2 separate regions of the Homo sapiens genome follow, and region 1 is linked to region 2. The links are contacts of gene promoters, found by promoter capture Hi-C in blood cells and fetal thymus (Javierre and others, 2016). All regions are on one chromosome and are shown on one strand. The core of a region is centred on a gene start or on the middle of the fragment in contact, and the rest is flanking DNA. Distances in the headings are between cores, read along the strand shown. Region 1 overlaps RBM28 (RNA binding motif protein 28). Region 2 holds the start of LEP (leptin).

Region 1 (3,187 bases), core at 200-2,699, 95 kb after region 2:
TCTCCCCTCGTCAAGCCACAAAGAAAAGGCCATGCAAGCACATAGCGAGAAGGCAGCAGTCTGCAAGCTAGGAAGAGAGCTGCACCCAAAATGAATCAGCTGGCACCTGGGACTTCTAGCCTCTAGAGCTGTGAGAAAATAAGTTTCTGCTGTTTAAGCCACCCAGTTTATGGTATTTTGTTATGTCAGTCCAAACTGACTAAACAGTTCTTTATCCCCATCTCAACTCCAAGGAGTTGTTTAAAATCTAGCTTGATGTTGAGATGGTTATATCATCTGTTTCATCTATATTATCTGTATAAGATGCTGTTTACCTGGTTATTCTATCAAGTTGGACAATCCAGAGAGAGGTAGAACCTCAGCATTAAGCTAGGTTTTCAATTCCCTAAGAATCTTAACCCTCAAACACCACTCCAAAACTCACTTAAAAAACAAAACAAACAAAAAGGAAACAACAAAAAAACCTTTGGAAGAAAGGAGTATAAAGGTTTCCTTTTCAGCATTTAAACATAAATTTGATAGAACACCTTAGAGTCCTATTTAAAAAGAGATCTAAGCAGAACTGATGCTCATTTCCGTAACTTCAGTAACTTTTTTAAAGTCTAAAGACATTTATGAAAATCCAAACAAACCTTTATCCTCTTGCTCCTCAGTGCTGGTATCACTCTGAGCCAGTTCCTCTCCATCATCAATACTATCGCTTTCCTCTAGGTCACTGTCCTCCTCAGAATGATCACTGCTTTTTGCAGGGGCTGGTCTCTTGACTGCTCTGCAATGGCACAGATCAGAACTAAGGAGGTGGGCTGACAGAGGGCCTATTCAATTTCATTACACATGTCAATTCTGCAATGATGCAGGCAGAAAAAGGAGAATTTTTCCTCTCGGAGACAATCTTGAATCTTCCTCTGCTGTCTCAGAACAGGATGAGCTGCTTACCTCTTCTGAATTTGCACAGGCTTGGTCACCTTTGATTCTATATTCTCTTCCTCTTCATCTTCATCATCAAAAACCCCATCTTCTTCATCATCATCATCGTCATCATCATCGTTTTCTTCCTCTTCCATATCCTCTTCCTCTCTGCCCTTCTTTTTAACTGATTCCTGATGTTTAGATTCATGGCTCTTTTCCTCACCTATGGAGGGAGGTAAAGAAAGGAGGAATTCATTTAATATCCAAAACAATGTTATTTTAACAAAAGTAACCAATACTCCAAGTTCTTGGTTTCATCGGTTTTACAGAATTTCGTATATTTTTCTTACTGCATATAACAGGAGAAAGTATAAAGAAAAGAAAAAGCAAAAACAGAAATAAACAAAACTCTCAACACCCAGATTCCTTTAGAGTTTGTCCCATTCATCAGTCTGAAGGTTCATCTGGCCCAGACTGAAAGAAGTGGCAACTGAGCCTCTCCAAGCAGTCTACCATTCGTACATCATAGCCAGCAAAATGCTCACTAGGGGGCAAAGCCAAGCCATGAACTTTAATCTCAGTGCGTTCTATTCTCTGAGACCCTGGTGGCTTACCAGCCAATTGTTTTCTAAATAAACCTCAAGTTTTAAGTTTCTCTATTCTTAATGTTCCATCACTCCTATTATGCACAGCCTGGAAACAACAGCAAGTAAAGGGGACAGTGAACTCAGGCTCACTCACAGCCACTCCCAGGAAGGGGCTTAGACTCAAAAGAGCCTAGGTTTTGGGACCAGAGCACCAAATGGTACAATATGAATTGACAAACAGACCTGGACTCACTTCTGAGCCAGCAGGAATTCAGAGTTTTCCCTGAAAGCCCAGTCTCATTCTTTTGGTTAATCTTCCACAATAGTCTTACTCTGATAAGCAGGTTCTCTTACACTTTTTTTTTGAGACGAAGTCTCGTTTTGTTGCCCAGGCTGGAGTGCAGTGGGGTGATCTCGGCTCACTGCAACCTCTGCCTCCCAGGTTCAAGAACCTGCCTCAGCCTCCCAAGCAGGTGGGATGACAGGCGCCCACCACCAAGCCCAGCTAATTTTTGTATTTTTAGTAGAGATGGGGTTTTGCATGTTGGCCAGGCTGGTCTCAAACTCCTGACTGCAAGCAATCCACCCAAAGTGCTGGAATTACAGGCAAGAGCCACTGCACCCAGCCTTTTTCTTACACTTTTATCATGAACACAGGAGTTGTTTCAATACTCTCACCCAGGTTATACAACGCCCCTACTCACCCAACACTACCACATCTTACCTATAGCAGAAACAGACTGTGTATCTTTATATTTATCCTTTGCCACGGCCCAATCCACAGCCACTGTCCGGCCTGTCAAGCAGAAAAGTGGCATCAGAAAGGCTCTCCTTTTAAAAACCCTACCTCTGTAAATGACCCCTAGTCATCACAGACAATAATGGAACCAGTGGAGACAAAGAAACTGCCAATTCAGGGAATGCTGGTCTTAAAATAAAGCTCCTAGTCACTGCCTACTCCTTTTAACCCTTAACCTTTTTATCAATGAACAGAAATTTTGCCTTTCTACATAGCCACCACACCTGGGATAAGATGGAGTAAAAAAATAAAGAATTAGAACTATGTTTCCAGTTAGACTATCAGGAATCAAAACAGGCATTCTGGAATCATCTGCACCCTACCTGGAAGCTAGGACATCTCTACGGCAATAACTTCTTTTTTTTTTTTTTGAGACACAGTCTCGCTCTGTCGCCCAGGCTGGAGTGCAGTGGTGCCATCTCAGTTCACTGCAACCTCCGCCTCCAGGTTCAAGCGATTCTCCTGCCTCAGCCTCTTGAGTAGCTGGGATTACAAGCATGCACCACCACACCTGGCTAATTTTTGTATTTTCAGTAGAGACGGGGTTTCGCCATGTTGACCAGGCTGGTCTTGAACTCCTGACCTCAGGTGATCCACCTGCCTCCTCGGCCTCCCAAAGTGCTAGGATTACAGGTGTGAGCCACCGCACCTGGCCGGCAATAACTTCTTTAGGCACAGTACTTGATAAGTCAATATATAAATCACAGTCAGTTTAATAAATAGCCCACAGATGCTGAACAGTGATATAACCAAGGAGGAATCTAGATACCAACCTGCATCTATCAGCAATTATCTCAGGGACATTTTTCACTAGGGATTTAAAAGGACACTCTCACCAGATAAAAGAAAGAATACTGGCAAGGGTTCTTTCAAGTTTAACCCCAAGATCAAG
Region 2 (3,018 bases), core at 277-2,776:
TGGGATACTGAGATTACAAGCATGAGCCACTGCATCTGGCCTCTTCTTTTGATTTTTTTTTTTCAAACTTTTACAAATGTAGAAACCATTCTTAGCTTTTGGGCATTACCAAACCCGGCAGTGGCAGGCTCGGTTCACCAACGTCATTTGCAGTTCCCCGCTTTATGTTATGGGTTTTGTTTTGTTTTGTTTTTTTTATTGAGACAGAGTTTCACTCTTGTTGCCCAGGCTGTAGTGCAATGGTCTGATCTTGGCTCACTGCAACCTCCACTTCCCAGGTTCAAGCCATTCTCCTGCCTCAGCCTCTCAAGTAGCTGGGATTACAGACACTCACCACCACACCTGGCTAATTTTGTATTTTTAGTAGAGATGAGGTTTCACCATGTTGGCCAGGCTGGTCTCGAAATCCTGACCTCAGGTGATCCACCCACCTTGGCCTCCCAAAGTGCTGGGATTACAGGCTTGAGCTACCACGCCTGGCTGGGTTGGTTCTCAATGGAGTGGTTTGTTTTTGGAGCTGCTCTGCGCAGTGGGGACCAGAATAGGCCTGGGTTCCTAGCCCATTGCTATTCCTTACCAGCTGTGGATTCTAAGGAAAGTCATTTAACCTCGCTGGACCTTAGATTCCTCATCCCTGAAGCCCAAGGGTAAAACAAAACAAAACAAAACAAAACAAACCAACCCATCATGTAAAGCGGGGAACTACAAACGATACAGGTGAAACATGCCTACCACACCACTCACAGGCTATGATGACAAAAACGTGGCTACATCTGGGACCACCCCCCAACCCCCACTTTGTACGTAGGAAATACGGAGTTGAGGATGGAGACCCACAGTATGTCCAGAGTGTCCCCAAAGGCCACAGTGCCCGCCTGGAGCCCTCCAGAGAGCGTGCACTCCCTGGGGTGCCAGCCAGAGACAACTTGCCCTGAGGCTTGGAACTCGATTCTCCGCGTGCCAGAGAAGGGGTGGGACTTCAGAACCCCCAACCCCGCAATCTGGGTCGGGGAGCCTGGCGCACTGCGGGCCGCTCCCTCTAACCCTGGGCTTCCCTGGCGTCCAGGGCCGTCGGGGCCGAGTCCCGATTCGCTCCCACCCCGAAGCCGCGCCAGGACCAACGAGGGCGCAGCCGTATGCCCCAGCCCGCTCCGCGGAGCCCCTCACAGCCACCCCCGCCCCGACCGCGCCCCGCGCGGCTCGAAGCACCTTCCCAAGGGGCTGGTCCTTGCGCCATAGTCGCGCCGGAGCCTCTGGAGGGACATCAAGGATTTCTCGCTCCTACCAGCCACCCCCAAATTTTTGGGAGGTACCCAAGGGTGCGCGCGTGGCTCCTGGCGCGCCGAGGCCCTCCCTCGAGGCCCCGCGAGGTGCACACTGCGGGCCCAGGGCTAGCAGCCGCCCGGCACGTCGCTACCCTGAGGGGCGGGGCGGGAGCTGGCGCTAGAAATGCGCCGGGGCCTGCGGGGCAGTTGCGCAAGTTGTGATCGGGCCGCTATAAGAGGGGCGGGCAGGCATGGAGCCCCGTAGGAATCGCAGCGCCAGCGGTTGCAAGGTAAGGCCCCGGCGCGCTCCTTCCTCCTTCTCTGCTGGTCTTTCTTGGCAGGCCACAGGGCCCCACACAACTCTGGATCCCGGGGAAACTGAGTCAGGAGGGATGCAGGGCGGATGGCTTAGTTCTGGACTATGATAGCTTTGTACCGAGTTCTAGCCAGATAGAAGGTTACCGGGAGCTGGGGAGCGTTGGATTTGCTGCTGGGCTGTGCCGGTGCCCAGAAGGCAGGACCTTGCAGAACCAGCCAGGTCCCTGGGAGACTGTCAGACCCACCAACCTGGTGGCATTCGCAGAGCTGAGATGCATTGGAAATTGCCTTGGGCACATCCCCAAAGATCAGGATGTCCCACCCCAGTCTGAAGGAGATAAAGTTGGGGGTAGGAGAGACGCAGATGCAAGTGATCAGTCTCAGTCCCAGACATTGCCTTGCTCTGCGGGTAGGAATTCAGGATTCATTTTCCAGGGAAGTTCCTGACCTCTGAATGAGAGGGGCTGTGTAAGGCCAATGCCTGGGAGGAAGGCAAGGATGAGTAGAGGTGGGGGGAAACAAGTGTCAGGAAGACTCAAAATCTTCCAGAGAAATTGTGCAGGGTCTTACCAGATCTGTCCTCAAAGCCATGCAAATTGCCTTCTTTGCAATGCATACAATGAGGTGTCTCTGGGGGTCAGAACTGGTTATTAGGGAACTTCTAGCCAGGACTGCTAAATACGCGCTGTTGGCCCACCAGGCTCACCTATAGCCTTCCTTCAGTCTGGGCTTGGTTTGGATTTCACTGTGGGTGCCATCGCCTTTACACTCCTGTTTCTATAGTTTAAAGATAGTGGTGCTTTGGGAAAGTGACTCCTTAAATACAGTTAGGTCCAAGTGAGACAAGTGGCCTGGCTGTCATTTCAGAATAGCAGCTTCCAAGAGGTGATTAATTTCTGTTGGAAGGGTGATCTTTGGGGAGGTGGGTGAAGAGCAGAGACTTGGTGGTACCGTTCCAGGAGCACAGGCTCTCTTCCTTTGCAGTGCAGAATGACCTCTGGCAGCCGGAGTTGTGTTTGTTCTGTAGGATTCTGAGGTGGGCCATGGGCAGCTGGAACTGGGGAATTTTGCCAATCTCTTTCATATTAGGATTGTCTGCAGAACCAGATATGGAGGCTTCTAGCAACGTGAGTGCTCCTGTTCTAATGCCCTTAGAAACAAGAAGGCCACACTGATCATTTCTCTCACTTAGGCAGGGAGACAAGGCAAGAGAGAAACAGTGGATGCTTTTAGGTTCTTTCCCTTCCCAAGCAGTTGTGGACATTGGGCTGAGGGGAACATTTCCACATTGGCTAAAGGAGCGTCCTCCTCATATTTTGTACATTTTATACCCAAAATAACTCTTCTTGGTATTTGGGGAAATATTTTCCTCCCCGTCCATTCCAGGAAATGGCTCCAAGTGCCAAGGACAGAGCCAGGGAAGTTGCAATGAATT

The links. Contacts are between HindIII fragments. The CHiCAGO score rates a contact against its expected background, and 5 or more counts as called.
Region 1: a fragment that was not itself captured here is called in contact with the fragment with the promoter of LEP in region 2 in 2 of 17 cell types (megakaryocytes and neutrophils); the score reaches 5.4 in megakaryocytes.

What each region holds. Positions count from the first base shown.
Region 1 is chr7:128,334,911-128,338,097 of GRCh38, forward strand. RBM28 (RNA binding motif protein 28) reads right to left here. Exons shown (of 19, transcript NM_018077.3): 6 at 2,221-2,292; 7 at 937-1,132; 8 at 633-769. Among named protein-coding and RNA genes, the nearest start is that of RBM28, 7.4 kb to the right of the region's middle. The HindIII fragment of the contact is 3,765 bases long and covers 1-3,187 here.
Region 2 is chr7:128,239,752-128,242,769 of GRCh38, forward strand. It overlaps LEP (leptin), which reads left to right and starts at 1,527. Exons shown (of 3, transcript NM_000230.3): 1 at 1,527-1,555. RefSeq lists promoters at 1-1,555, 1,309-1,555 and a cis regulatory region at 1,473-1,481. The HindIII fragment of the contact is 7,258 bases long and covers 1-3,018 here.